Linked DNA regions of Homo sapiens: all the other regions are linked to region 4. The links are contacts of gene promoters, found by promoter capture Hi-C in blood cells and fetal thymus (Javierre and others, 2016). All regions are on one chromosome and are shown on one strand. Each heading gives the region's core, a stretch centred on a gene start or on the middle of the fragment in contact. The rest is flanking DNA. Distances are from core to core; before and after follow the strand shown.

What was found. Contacts are between HindIII fragments. The CHiCAGO score rates a contact against its expected background, and 5 or more counts as called.
Region 1: a fragment that was not itself captured here is called in contact with the fragment with the promoter of TMEM109 in region 4 in 7 of 17 cell types (activated CD4 T cells, total CD4 T cells, total CD8 T cells and 4 more); the score reaches 7.1 in activated CD4 T cells.
Region 2: a contact is called between a fragment that was not itself captured here and the fragment with the promoter of TMEM109 in region 4, in 4 of 17 cell types (total CD8 T cells, activated CD4 T cells, naive CD8 T cells and 1 more). The highest score is 7.0, in total CD8 T cells.
Region 3: a contact is called between a fragment that was not itself captured here and the fragment with the promoter of TMEM109 in region 4, in 7 of 17 cell types (total B cells, non-activated CD4 T cells, total CD8 T cells and 4 more). The highest score is 8.9, in total B cells.
Region 5: a contact is called between a fragment that was not itself captured here and the fragment with the promoter of TMEM109 in region 4, in 7 of 17 cell types (total CD4 T cells, activated CD4 T cells, naive CD4 T cells and 4 more). The highest score is 12.2, in total CD4 T cells.

What each region holds. Positions count from the first base shown.
Region 1 is chr11:61,085,649-61,088,348 of GRCh38, reverse strand. All of the region lies in intron 1 of LOC105369325 (a long non-coding RNA gene), which reads left to right. Among named protein-coding and RNA genes, the nearest start is that of CD5, 15 kb to the left of the region's middle. The HindIII fragment of the contact is 5,909 bases long and covers 1-2,700 here.
Region 2 is chr11:61,045,559-61,048,291 of GRCh38, reverse strand. All of the region lies in intron 1 of LOC105369325 (a long non-coding RNA gene), which reads left to right. Among named protein-coding and RNA genes, the nearest start is that of LINC02954, 8.5 kb to the left of the region's middle. The HindIII fragment of the contact is 3,449 bases long and covers 1-2,733 here.
Region 3 is chr11:61,067,180-61,069,879 of GRCh38, reverse strand. It overlaps LINC02954 (long intergenic non-protein coding RNA 2954), which reads right to left. Exons shown (of 4, transcript NR_186234.1): 4 at 2,283-2,449. The region is part of intron 1 of LOC105369325 (a long non-coding RNA gene); the gene reads left to right. Among named protein-coding and RNA genes, the nearest start is that of LINC02954, 13 kb to the right of the region's middle. The HindIII fragment of the contact is 2,133 bases long and covers 282-2,414 here.
Region 4 is chr11:60,912,869-60,915,568 of GRCh38, reverse strand. TMEM109 (transmembrane protein 109) reads right to left here and starts at 1,411. Exons shown (of 4, transcript NM_024092.3): 1 at 1,301-1,411. TMEM109-DT (TMEM109 divergent transcript) reads left to right here and starts at 1,506. Exons shown (of 2, transcript NR_186356.1): 1 at 1,506-1,609; 2 at 2,092-2,403. RefSeq lists enhancers at 613-782, 177-1,175, 2,174-2,700 and a silencer at 963-1,122. The HindIII fragment of the contact is 3,992 bases long and covers 152-2,700 here.
Region 5 is chr11:61,113,286-61,115,985 of GRCh38, reverse strand. CD5 (CD5 molecule) reads right to left here. Exons shown (of 11, transcript NM_014207.4): 2 at 892-930. Among named protein-coding and RNA genes, the nearest start is that of CD5, 12 kb to the right of the region's middle. The HindIII fragment of the contact is 2,603 bases long and covers 116-2,700 here.

The DNA of each region.
Region 1 (2,700 bases), core at 125-2,624, 170 kb before region 4:
CTTTAGGGATCAGGATTTTTCTGTTCCATGATGGGCACTCTAGGTGCCCTGTGACTGTCAGTGTGGAAGAGGTCCAGGTCCACCTCGAGGGACAGGTTTGATATAAGAATAAGACATGTTTGTGATCATTAGTGAGTGTCCAGGACTCCACCTTGGGGGACAAATTTGATATAAAAGTGAGACATGTTTGTGATCATTTACTGAATGTCCAGGACATTCCTCGAGTGACTTCTGTTTGTCTTTGATGGCGGGTCCTTCCCTTTGCCCATTGCTGGGAGGTTTGGAGGAGCTGAGGTCACCAGCCTTGTTTCAGAGATGAGGAGACTGAAGTTCTGAGAGATGAGGGGATGGGTCCAGGTGCAGTCAGCCTTGGCCTGTGGCAAGAGGCAGGTCCCCAAGGCAATCTGGAGAGAGTCGGTTCTGGTCTGGTGTGGAGGGTGGGAGGGCATAGCTCAACAACTTCTACCCCATCCACACCGATGTGGAGCGCTCACCTCGATATGTGTCCCAGCAAGCCCCAACACTTCAGCATGGGTTATATGTTCCTAATTCTGTAAGCTCTTCTGAGGCCAGGGCCATGTTGGGTTGACCCTGTGGGATGATCTGGAAACAAATACTTATTGGTGTTATATGTGGTGATGATGATAGTGATGATCATGTCAATGATGAGAATGATGATAATGGCAGTAATGATGCTGATGGTGATGATGAAATGATGAAGATGATGGTGATGATGATGTCAGTAATGTTGATGAAGTCGATGATGATGATGATGGTGGTGATAATAGCTACCATTTACTAAGGGCTTACACAGTGCTAGGGACTCTATGTAATTACATTATCTTAGTTTTTTTCCCCAGAGTGAGTATGACACCTTGGCCGGGCGTAGTGGCTCGTGCCTGTAATCCCAGCACTTTGGGAGGCCGAGGCAGGAGAATCACTTGAGCCCAGGAGTTAAAGACCAGCCTGGGCAACACGGTGAAACCCTGTCTCTATAAAAAAATTAAAAAAAAATTATCCAGGCATGGTGGTGTGTGCCTGTAGTCCCAGCCACTTGGGAGGCAGAGATGGGAGGATTGCTTGAGCCCAGGAGGTTGAGGCTGCAGTGAGCTGTGATCATGCCACTGCACTCCAACCTGGGTGACAGAGTTAATATATACATACCACCTTCACTGATGTGGAGGATGACTTGAGGTGGCTCACAGATGAACATTTTTATCTTAATAATGTGTTTGTTTTACTTTATATTAATTTATATACTGAAAATAGATAACTAGCTCACCAGATTCATGGTTTATACATTTCATTTTTAGATTAACTAGTGAGTTGATTTAAAGGAAAAATATTAAGTAAAAATAATATTTGGTACTTGGATAAGGTAAACGTGAATGGAAATTTTGAATCATTGACATTTGGAAGCATTTGGGGCAGATATCATTTTTATTCTATTTTGCAGAAGAGTGAGTAGATACTCAGAGAGTTTAATTAGCCTGAGATTATACACCATCCAGGTGGTAAAGCTGGGCTGGAACCCAGATGCTTAATTTAAAACAACAACAACTTTTTACTTATATATGGGATACACACAGCACAGTACATGCAGTGTGTTATAAATGTAACTTCACACACTGCACGTGCTGGTGTAACCAGCACCTGGGAGGCTCCCCACTGCCCCGCACTGCTCCCTACCCAAGTATCCACTGTCCTGACTTCTGTCATCATAGATTGGCTTTGCCTTTTCTTTGAACTTTATTTTATTTATTTATTATTTTGAGACAAGAGTCTGTCACCCAGGCTGGAGTGCAGTGGTGCCATCTTGGCTCACTGCAGCTTCTGCCTCCCAGGTTCAAATGAGTCTCCTGCATCAGCCTCCCGAGCAGCTGGGATTACAGGTGTGCACCACCACGTCTGGCTAATTTTTATTTTTTATTTTTTTTATTTTTTTTTTTTTTAAGAAATTTAGATTTTATTCTTTTTTTTTTTTTTTTTTTATTATACTCTAAGTTTTAGGGTACATGTGCACATTGTGCAGGTTAGTTACATATGTATACATGTGCCATGCTGGTGCGCTGCACCCACTAATGTGTCATCTAGCATTAGGTATATCTCCCAATGCTATCCCTCCCCCCTCCCCCGACCCCACCACAGTCCCCAGAGTGTGATATTCCCCTTCCTGTGTCCATGTGATCTCATTGTTCAATTCCCACCTATGAGTGAGAATATGCGGTGTTTGGTTTTTTGTTCTTGCGATAGTTTACTGAGAATGATGGTTTCCAATTTCATCCATGTCCCTACAAAGGATATGAACTCATCATTTTTTATGGCTGCATAGTATTCCATGGTGTATATGTGCCACATTTTCTTAATCCAGTCTATCATTGTTGGACATTTGGGTTGGTTCCAAGTCTTTGCTATTGTGAATAGTGCCGCAATAAACATACGTGTGCATGTGTCTTTATAGCAGCATGATTTATACTCATTTGGGTATATACCCAGTAATGGGATGGCTGGGTCAAATGGTATTTCTAGTTCTAGATCCCTGAGGAATCGCCACACTGACTTCCACAATGGTTGAACTAGTTTACAGTCCCACCAACAGTGTAAAAGTGTTCCTATTTCTCCGCATCCTCTCCAGCACCTGTTGTTTCCTGACTTTTTAATGATTGCCATTCTAACTGGTGTGAGATGATATCTCATAGT
Region 2 (2,733 bases), core at 225-2,724, 130 kb before region 4:
GGGCAGGGAAGAGATCAGATCTGTTTTGATGGGTAAGAACAAAAGGTGAGGTGGTTGAAGAAGATGTGGAAAGGGCCCACGGTGCACTTTGTTCTGAAATTGCAGTGACTGGGGGTGACTCGGATCAGCCCATCAAAGTGACACCCCTCTTCAGGTGGCCCAATCATCAAAGGTGGGGGAAAGGGCTGGGAGCTAGGGGGCCAGTCTTTTGTCCTGTCTCTGACTTGTAACATTTATTTCCCTTCCCATTCACCATAAGTATGAGGCAACAGTACACAAAACGGAGCAGGATGAAAAATAACCCAGAGAACTCTGTGTGATAGGAAAGCACGGGTGAAAAGATGAATTGATGAGAAAGTTATCCACATGATGCATCATATCAAAAGGTCTGTTCATGTTGTAGGTGGTGGGACACTGGTTTGATTCTGAGCTTCCTGGTGGCCAAGGCAAAGAGGCAAACCCAGAGGCTTGAGGACCCTCTCTACTGTCTCAAAAGACATTCTCGTCATCTTTATGAGCAACAAACAGCAAGTTTCATCATGCTGTTTCCCACAAAATCCCTCAATTCCTGAAGGTCTGCCCCAAAGCACAAGTCAGTAAAAGCAGCTCTTCAGGGCCAAAGCAAGTGAATGCTTGTGAATGATACAAGCTGCTAGGTGCGATTACTGTTGTAGCGGGGATTTATGCATCAGAGGACTGGCTTTTCTAAACCTGGTTTCTAGAGTCAGAGGCACTTTTTAAAGCTGGAATTCTCAACAAGGGTTTTTCCTAACTGCCTTCAGAAACTGGCCAGTCTTCAGAAATGAAGTGATGTGCAAAAGTGAAGTGTGCCTGGCACATAGTAGGTGCCCAGTTAAGGTTTGTTGTTACTGTGGTTGGATAAAGCCAGTCTGCCTGGTTGAATCTCACTCTCATGCTTGCTATGCAACATCAAAAGCTCTTTTCTGGGAAGAGGCCCATTAGGAGCATTTGTCAGGGGTGTGATGCTGATAGCAGGTGGATTATTGAGAGATTTGCTGCAGAGCAAACACCGAGCTCAAGGCATCCTAATATGTATGTATGTTTGAGGTTCAAGGAAAAGTGCAGGTAAAGAAAATGGGCAGAACTCTGAGAGCAGTCTGTAGAAAAAGAGAACTCGACCACTGGGAGAAAGGCAGATGGCTGCACAGTTGTGCTTCTTTGAATGCTACTGGCCTGACTGAAGACAGAGCTGCATTCCAGCATGATTGTAGCCCAAGTTGGCATCAGAAGCCACCTTCCAGTCACCCTGCAGATCGGGAAATATGTACTGTTGAAGTCTGGTGGTAATTTGAGGGCTTCCACAGTATCATTTTAGAGAGGATCCCTATTCTTAGCTGTGCAGATTGCTCTAAATTACATTGAGCACTTCATATTCTTGAGAAACCAGCTGCCACTGCAGGAAATCAGAGAATACTACAGCTGGAGGCACCTCAGGAATCGCCATGTCCTTGTCTTACAAGGGACGAAACTGATGCCCTGACCTGAATAGTGAATTCACAGTAGAATATTAACACTACAGCAGAGGCTGACTCCCGCAGTCCATATCATTTATTGGTATGTTAATGATTAAGTGAAATATTGCAAACAACTTCAAGGTGCATCAATAGAGCATTGGTTAAATAAATAATGGTACGTCCATAAGACAAGATGTATGGGTGGAAATATTTTCACATGGACCATTAAGAAAGAATGAGGTTGATGGACTTTTATTGCTGTGGAAGGATGTCCATGACATATTGATGAGGAAAAGAAGCAATTTGCAAATAACATGCATGTGTCTCTGTATGTGTGTCTACATATAGGTATGTGTATGTATAGAGGTGGTTATCTCCAGGTGGTAGGATTCCAGATTATTTTTACCTTCTTTAGAGATTTTGTGCAGTGTTTAGCCTTTTTTTTTCTTGTTTCCTTTCTATGAGTGTGGATTTGTTATAATAAAAAGTTACATTAATGTTTTTTTTTTTTGAGACGGAGTCTCACTCAGTCGCCCAGGCTGGAGTGCAGTGGTGCCATCTCGGCTCACTGCAAGCTCCGCCTCCCAGGTTCACACCATTCTCCCGCCTCAGGCTCCCGAGTAGCTGGGACTACAGGCGCCCACCACCACGCCCGGGCAATTTTTTTTTTGTATTTTTAGTAGAGACGGGGTTTCACCGTTTTAGCCAGGATGGTCTTGATCTCCTGACCTCATGATCCGCCTGCCTCGGCCTCCCAAAGTGCTGGGATTACAGGCGTGAGCCACCGCACCTGGCCTATATTAATTTTTAAACATGTTAATTGCTCATTTAAAATAGGTTTCAAAAAAATTATCAAGGAAATACATGTTTATGGCACAAAACTTGGAAAACTATTTTAAAAACTAGAAAGAGAAAAAAGAATCCCATCCAAATCTACCATTCAGAGCATCGTGGGCAGCCCTCCTAGGCTTGTTTGCTGTACATCTTGCTGGGATTTTGTAAGAAGAATCCCTTCTGAAAACTGCATGAAATTCTCTTAGATCTAGATACCGGCATTTACCAGATGGGTTTCCTAGATGTTAGACATCTCATTCTAGTTTTTCCTTATATAGTAGAGGACATCTTTGTGCGTATATGTTTGTCTACACTGTTTTCTTGGCAGTTTCTAAATGTGGGTCTCCTGGTCAAAAGCGCAGGCATTGTTAAAGCCCTCGGTACGCATTTTCCAGTTGCTTTTAAAAGCTGTCTCTCAATTTAC
Region 3 (2,700 bases), core at 99-2,598, 150 kb before region 4:
CTGTGTTTTCAGCAGAATCTGCTTTAGGTTGGTTGAGGGGAACCCAAACAGAATCCCCTTCTGTCCTCCCAGGCCCCCTTGAACCCTTTAATCCCTTCTGCACCCCCTCCCCAGTCCCAGTCTTCTTGTTGCTGGTGGACTCATTTTCCCCTGTTGCAAGAGCCTCACTGGTTTTGTCTGTCCTCCATCCAGCACCGTCGTTGTCATCACGATTGGCTTGCAGTGCTGGCCTGGAGGAAGCAGGTGGTAGGGACAGGGTGAATCTGAGCAATGACCAAGCTTGCTGTCAGGATGGGTGTTCTCCTCCCTTCTAAGCTGTGTGTCTTTGGGCTGTTGCCTGGCTCTCCCAGCCTACGCAACAAGGATGCTGAAACCTTACAGGGCTTCAAAGCTATTTGTACATTGTCAAAGGCAGGGCAGATGTGAGGGAGACAGATGATGAAGGAGGCAAGAGGCATCTTGAGGCTTGGAACTGATGGATCTCTTGTTCCCACCACTAAGGGGACACAGGGACCTGCTGGAGACACACTGGGTACCTGGAGTTCTGCCCTGAGGGGGGCACTGAGGGGCCAGAAGAAAGGGGGAGAGCTTTGCTGTCAAGCCTGTGGTTCCAGAGGGAGGTCACTGATCCTGATTCATTCACTTATTCAATAACTTACTAGGTGCCTGCTATGCACGAGGCACTGTCCTTGGTGTTGGGAGACATGGCAAGAACAAAACAGACCCCAAACTTTCCTGCCCTCATGCTCCTTACAGTCTAACCTGGGGCAACTGACAATGAACAAAATAAATAAGTAAAAATATATTGTGTGTCCAGTGGCAATAAATGCTACGGAAGAGACTAAAACAGGAGAAGAGAAGGGGGAAGGGGGAGGGAGGGGTGGCGATTTAAATAGGGCTGTCCAGGAAGGCTCCACCCAAGGCGAGGAAGGGAGTTGAGGGCTCTCCAGGGGAAGAGCCTTCCAGCCCAGGACCAGCAAAGGCCCTGAGGCTGTCCAGTGTGTCCGATGGCCAGCGTGACCCAAGTGGTGTGAGCAGGTAGAGCAGTAGGCTGTGAGGTGGGAGACGTCATGGGTGCCTTTTACATGGGATCACTCCACATCCAGCAGGGAGAACACCCGGAAGGGAATGAGGGCAGGAAGCAGGAAGGCAGGTGAGGAGGCAGAGAGGACGGTGGCCAGGATCAGGGCGGTCGCAGTGGAGGGGGTGGGAGGTGGCCAGAGTCTGACTACATCTCGAAGGCAGAACCCATAGGATTTCTGGCTGGATTGCAGCTGGGATGTGAGAGAAAGAGGAGTCACAGGTGACACCACAGTTTTTGGCCAGAGCACCTGGAAGGATGGAGAAGCCCTGTCTTGAGATAGGGATGGTCAGGAGTTTGCTTTTGGCCATATGACACTTGAGATGCTCTCGGACACCCAAGTGGAGATGCTGAGCAGACAGGGCTGGGTATGAGTCTGGGGCCCAAGGTGGGTGGGGAGAAAGAGAGAGAGAGAGAGATCCAAGCTGGGAACATATTGGTGTTACCACGGTGGATTGGGAGGGATGGGGGTCGTTGGCAGCAGCGCACGTGAAGTCACTGCCACTGCCTGGCCTTTCTCTGCCCCTCAGTCGTGCCTCAGAGAAGAGAGGCAGACATATCTGCCCCGGAGCCCACCCAACTTGGCCCGCCTGCCATTCCCCTCCCCACCTCCCCTCCTGCCTTCCTTTCGTAGTCACCTGTTGTCTAAGTGTGGGCTGGGGGAGGGCGTTGCTGTTTTGGGTTCTCTCTGCCCCCCACTGAACAGAGGAGAGTGCACGGGAGGCCATCAACGCCAGCCCCATCAATCTCGAAAACTAGGTCACGCTGGAGCCTGGGGCCTCCACACTGGGCTCCAGCCACATCTGTCATTGACCTGAGACTCATGCATCCCTGCTCCTGGCAGGCACCATCTGTCACCCACAGCTCCTCTGTCTGTGCTCAGGATGCAGAATGGCCGACTCCTTTGCTGGTTCCAAGCACAGGCCATGGAAAGGGGCCTTGTGTTCATTGCATTTTTCACAGAGAGACTTATTCCCCAGGCTGACTGTCCACTGTGACCACCAGGAAGTTCAGTGGGTTTGCAAGGGCCCCAGTCTCCTATTTCAAGCTATCCTCCTGCCTGGGCCTCCCAAAGTGTTGGGATTATAGGCATGAGCCACTGTGCCCAGCCATAATCAGTGCTTCATACCATCAGATCTGGTATGTGGATTGAAACCTGTTTGTTAACTCGGATCTACACAGAGCCAAGCAGTACAAGAACTTGGAAACTTGGTTGAGTTTTTTAATCTTTTATCCAGGTTTTATCCAGGTTTTAACCTAGATGCTCACTGGGTAGAATTTAAGAGCTCAGGGAAGATTCAGAACCCAGGCAAAACTGTTTCTGGCTGAAGCTTTTCGTCATTTGATCAAGCATATGTAAGGTTAGCTCTGAAAAAGAAGTGTAAACACTGTTAATGATTTTTAAAAATGTAAAACTTTTTTTATATATATTGCATGCACACACACGCCCACACACCCACACACACATACACCGTGTAACCTCCACCCAGCTCAAGATCTAGAACATTTTCATCCCCCATTAAGGTTCCCTAGAGCCTCTCCTATCAGCCGCCCCCTCCCACCAAGAGCTAAGCACTGTTCTGGTCTCTCACTATGGGTCTGTTCTCCAGCTTTCCGTA
Region 4 (2,700 bases), core at 162-2,661:
GCCTGTGCAGCCTGTTAAACAAGGACGTCTGCCCCACCCAGGGCTACTCACTCAGACTCTTCCAGAGAGGGACTCAGCCCTTTGTTTTGCAAAGCTCCTCAGGAATTTCGGATGCATAGCCAGCAGCTCAGGGAAAAGTCTAAGCAAAGCTTCAAAAGTGCAGCAGTGTACAAAGGACCCCTGACTTCCGTCCCAGGCTCAAGTGTGCCACGGACTAGAAGCTACTACCTTACGCCTGTTACTTAACCTGCCTGAGTTGCAGTCTCCTCAAACGTAAAAGGGAGTGAACCCAGGTGAAGAGTTGCTGTAAGGAGTTAAGATATTTCTGCAGCAAGCGCTTTGTAAACTAAACATCTATAGAAATGTTGCAGCACACACATTACCACTGACTATATATCGTAGCATAATTTAGCAGTTTATCAACCTGCCTTCCCCAGTAGACCGAGCGACTCCCGGTTAGACTTGACATGTTGGAATCCCCAGCGCCTAGTAGGAAAGATGACTAATAAATGTTTATTAAATGAATATTAGCAACCTGCCAAGAAACCGTGAGGGTCGAACGAGAAAGCCATGGAGAGGTGAGGAGGGAGGTTATTTTAATAGTAGATCCAAATATACAGCAGCCACACGAGAAGCACAGCTGAGTCTAAAGGAAGGTCCTAAACAAGGCGAAGCCGCCACTGCAGAGAATGAAGTCAGCGCCCTGGCAGGTTGGGGGCAGCTCCCACTAAACCCCTGACAGCTGCTGCCCAGCAACTGTTTGGGGGCAGGGCGACGGCAAAGGGGCAGCTTCCCTGCCGCTCCGCGCCCTAACCGGGGCGCAGCCTCCCGGAGACAGGGTGTCAGTGGCATGTGCTATTTCGAACGGCGCGTCCCCTGCCAAGCGCTGAGGGGTAGCGTCGCTGGCAAGGAACGTGGCGCGACCCATGAGTTTGGGGCCCCCCGAAGGGCTCGAGCCGAGGCTGCAGGAGGCTGGGCCGTGGGTCGGGGTTCGGGGGCTCGGGCTTGGCGCTGGCCTGGTCCCCACGCCCGGGAGCCGCTCCACCTCTGCCGGACCTCGGAACCTCGCCGCAACCCTCTTCTCCCCGGAAACGTGCGCCTCCCGGGTTGCCTGGAAACGACGCCCCCGGTTGCATAGCAACGGGGATCCGGGTCCCCGGTTTGTTTCGCACGCTGGGCGCGCGGACCCCTCCCCACTCGGACTCTCCAGGCCTCGCGGCTCCGCCTGGTGCCGCCTGCAGCGGCTGCTGTCTCCCCTTCCCGTGCGCTGCCCCACATTCCGACCTCGGCCCGCTCTCACCTTTCTCAGGCCACTGCTATCCTTCACGTGCGACTTCGCTGAAACGCGCCACCAAACCCGCGCCTCAACTCGGGGCGCTGGTTTACCTTCTCCGCATGCGCAAGGCGGGATGAGCTCGGAGACTAGCCGGCCTTCCTCACAATCGAAGCCTGTGCCGGGAGCGCATGCGCCCCGCTTTATCTATTGCGTTTCTTTTTCCCCCCACAAGCATTCCCACCGAGAGAAGAATGGGATCGGAAGTTCCAGCAGGGAACGGAAGTCTCTGGCTGGAAAGGGGAAATAAGTGACTATATCTGGGCTGTAGAGTGGGTAAACTGGATCTTTGAAATCGGAGTGGAAGCTAATCCTCCTCTTGCCACCACTCGGCATTTTGGGTCATGTAGTTCTAGAGCTACAAATGTTCCCTGGGGCATTGTGGGCAATGTAGTTCTAACCGAGCCGCTAACGAGCACCTAGTCTTCCCATACACTTTTCGCGCTAAAAAGGCACAAAAGAGAAAGATATTAAAGGAGCAATTAAAAGCACACTGCTCTAGGAAAACGAATGCGCTCCCCCAGAGAGAAAATTCATACCTGAATACTGTAGACGGCTCCCAAATGTTAGCTCAGAATTTCAGAGAAAGAGAGGAACCAACTCTCACTCTCCTTTTTCTGCCACAAAGGCAGTGCATAGGGACAGGAGGCAGATAAATGCTAGGTAGAAAAGAGCGGGTCCCTGGTGAAACCCCACCCTCAAGCCAAAAAGCCTGAAACCATGGCCCAAAGTGAGAACTTCTATCCATGTTTTTCCAGTTGAATGTTGCCTTTTCCTAAGCCACCCATGGCTCTGCCCTGCCTCATCCTGTGCCTAGAAAGACCCCAGACTCATCTGGCAGAGAGGAGAAGCAGCTGGATGAGGGGACGACCATGGCTGGATGTCAGAGAGAAGCAGCTTGTCTTCAGAGGGACAGCTTAAGGCGTAACTTCTGAGACGAATCTGGCTGGAGATAGCTGGACTTCAAGGGAAGACTACATACCGGCCTGTCCCACCCCCCTCTTTTCAGCTCACCTTCCCTCTGAAATCCACTTTGATCAGCAATAAAATCCCAGGCATTTGTCCTTTAATTTGTTCGTGCAGCTTTATTTTTCTTGGACGCTGGACAAGAGCTCGGGAGCCACGAGTGCGGATACAAAAGCTGTCACGCTGGCCCTCTGCCCTTGCTGGTGGAGGGCAACCGCGGGCCCACGGAGCTGTTAACACTTAAGCTGTCCACGGACGACAGAGCCAAAAGAACACTGTAACATGCCCTCTGGGGCTTCAGGAGCCTCAGGCACTCTGCCTGGACACTGCCCCGGGGCCTGCACGGAGTTCGCTCCTGCCGGTGTCCAAAAGCGCACGCTCTGGCTCCTGCACCCACTCAC
Region 5 (2,700 bases), core at 168-2,667, 200 kb before region 4:
TTGCAGGCTGTCCGCCCAGCGAGCTGGCTCGTTGCCGCTTCACCAGGCAAGAGATTTTCTTCCCATTTCACAGCTGGGGAAACGGGCTCAAGAGGTCAAGCAGTGTGCCAAAGCTTGGAGCTAGGATGTCAGTGCAGGGCCCAGATCGTGCTTAGGGCCTGCCAAGGCCCCTGTCACCCCCTCTGGCTGCACAGTGGCATCTCAAGACCCTTCAGCCACAATTCTCCCCAGGTACATTCAGCACGATGTTATCCCAGTCAATGTGAAGGAGAGGTCTGTGGTGAAATAAGGGTGCAAAGTGCTGGGTTAAAAAGTGTCATGTATTTCTTCGCTGCAGGATTTCTCAGATCCTTTACTGGGCCGGTGTACACTGTCAGTCTTCAGTGGGAGATGCGGTGTTGCCTGCCCTTTGTCCAACATGCTCCATGGAACCCTATTTGGGAAACAGCCTCTACGACTAAACTCCAACGTCTAAGGCTGGACGTTCCACACACTTTACCATCAGTCTGCGGCCTCTCTCTGCAGACTCCGCTCTAAACATCTTTGACCATGGAGCATCTGTCAGGATTGGGTGGGAAATAAGACTTTGCAAGGTACATTTATGAGCTGGGATGTCTTCTGTGCATGGTGAGCGGGTCATAATAATTATCATGAGATCTGGCATTTGTGGGTGATTTACGGCTGTCGAGGGCACCCACCTGCATGTGAGCATCTTAATGTGCAGTGTCTGCATCTATGTGCCTGTGTGTATGCTGGGGTTCACTCTCTCTATAGGGTGGGGTTCACTCTGGCAGAAGTGATGGCTTCATCGAGAGGTCCCCGATGGCCTGATGAAACCACAGCCCCACTCTCCCCCTGCCCCAGGCCTTTCTCCATGTGGCTCTTCCTTACCTGGGTCATACCAGCTGAGCCGTCCGAGGCAGGAAGCGACTGCAGAAAGAAGAGAGGAGGGTCAGGAAGTGAAACCTCCCACTCTCTCCCTTCTCCCCAGCTCACCCACCCACAGCCCGAGCAATGGCCCTTTCTGCCTCCCCCTATCCACTATCATGGGTTTTAGGGACAGGAATTTTCATACTCCAGGTTGGAACCCCTGAGTGATATGAATTCTATCTAGTGGGCTGCAACTATCGATTTTTTTTCTTCTTAAAAAACGTTACTTTTAAAATGAACAGACGTGAAATTGATTTTTCTTTACTGCATGATTCCGTGAATGTCACATATATAGATGTGTGTGACCACCATCACAATCAAGGTATACACCAGTTCCATTACTCCCTACCTCAAATTCCCTCATGCTAACCTTTGTAATAATGTAACCATCAATTATTATTATTATTACTTTTTGAGACAGGATATCACTCTCCTCACCCAGGCTGGAGTGCAGTGGCATGATCACAGCTCACTGCAGCCTCAACCTCCCTGGCTCAAAGAATCCTCCCACCTCAGCCTCTTGAGTAGCTAGGATTACAGGCATGAGCCACTATGCCTGGCTAATTTTTTTACTATGTATGTGTGTATGTATGTATGTATGCATGTATGTGTGTGTGTATGTAGAGATGGGGTCTCACTATGTTGTCCAGGCTGGTTTTGAACTCCTGGGCTCAAGTGATCCTCGTGCATCAGCTTCCTGAAGTGCTGGGATTCACATGTGTGAGCCACAGCACTCAGGCCATCAATTTTTTTAAAAATGAAATGGAGTAGAATAGAGAGGCCGTGCACGGTGGCTTATGACTGCAATCCCAGCACTTAAGGGGGCCAAGGTGGGAGGACCGCTTGAGCCCAGAAGTTGGACCCTGCAGTGAGCTATGATTATGCCACAGCACTCTAGCTGGGTGACAGAGTAAGACCCTGTTTTTTTTTGTTTGTTTTGTTTTAAATAAATAAAAAAGAGAATGTCAGAATGCACTGATCACTTTTTGTGTGTTGGGGGTTGCAATGTAAAAATGTCCCGCATGTTTCCACTCAAAAAAGTTTGAGCTCCTTAGTTCTAGAGAATGGAGAAATGATCCAGAAAGGGGCCGGGCACGGTGGCCCATGCCTATAATCCAAGCACTTTGGGAGGCCGAGGTGGGGGGATCACTTGAGGTCAGGAGTTTGAGACTGGCCTAGCCAATATGGTGAAACCCTGTCTCTACTAAAAATAACAAAAATTAGCTCGGCGTGGTGATGCATGCCTGTAATCCCAGCTCCTCTGGAGGCTGAGGCAGGAGAATTGCTTGAACCTGGGAGGTGGAGGCTGCAGTGAGCTGAGATTGCACCACTATACTCCAGACTGGGTGAGAGAGTGAGATTCTGTCTTTACAAGAAAAAAAAAAGGAAAGAAAGAAATGAGCAAGAAAGGGAACCAAGAGAACATTTGCTACTTTCTAGCATTCCCAAGGCAGGATAAGAATGACAGCCACTTATCTTTAACAGCTGCCCATTTCTGGAGAAGACCAAGCTCAAAGAGATGGCGTGACCTGCCCACAGTAGTGTAGCCAGCTAGTTGACAAGGGAGCCAAGGCGACAGGCCCAGGGAACACGGGTCTGCAGGGAACCAGCCTTCCCCCATGTGGACCACGTGGAAGCTCTGCCTCCTTGTAGCCTGGTCTCACTGTGGAGTGGGGGCAAAGTTGCCCATTGCGGGGCTCTCAGCAGAGCAGCTCATCTGTGGCTGGGGAAGAGGTTTAATTTGGGTGGGGACGAGGTGAAGTAGCAAGC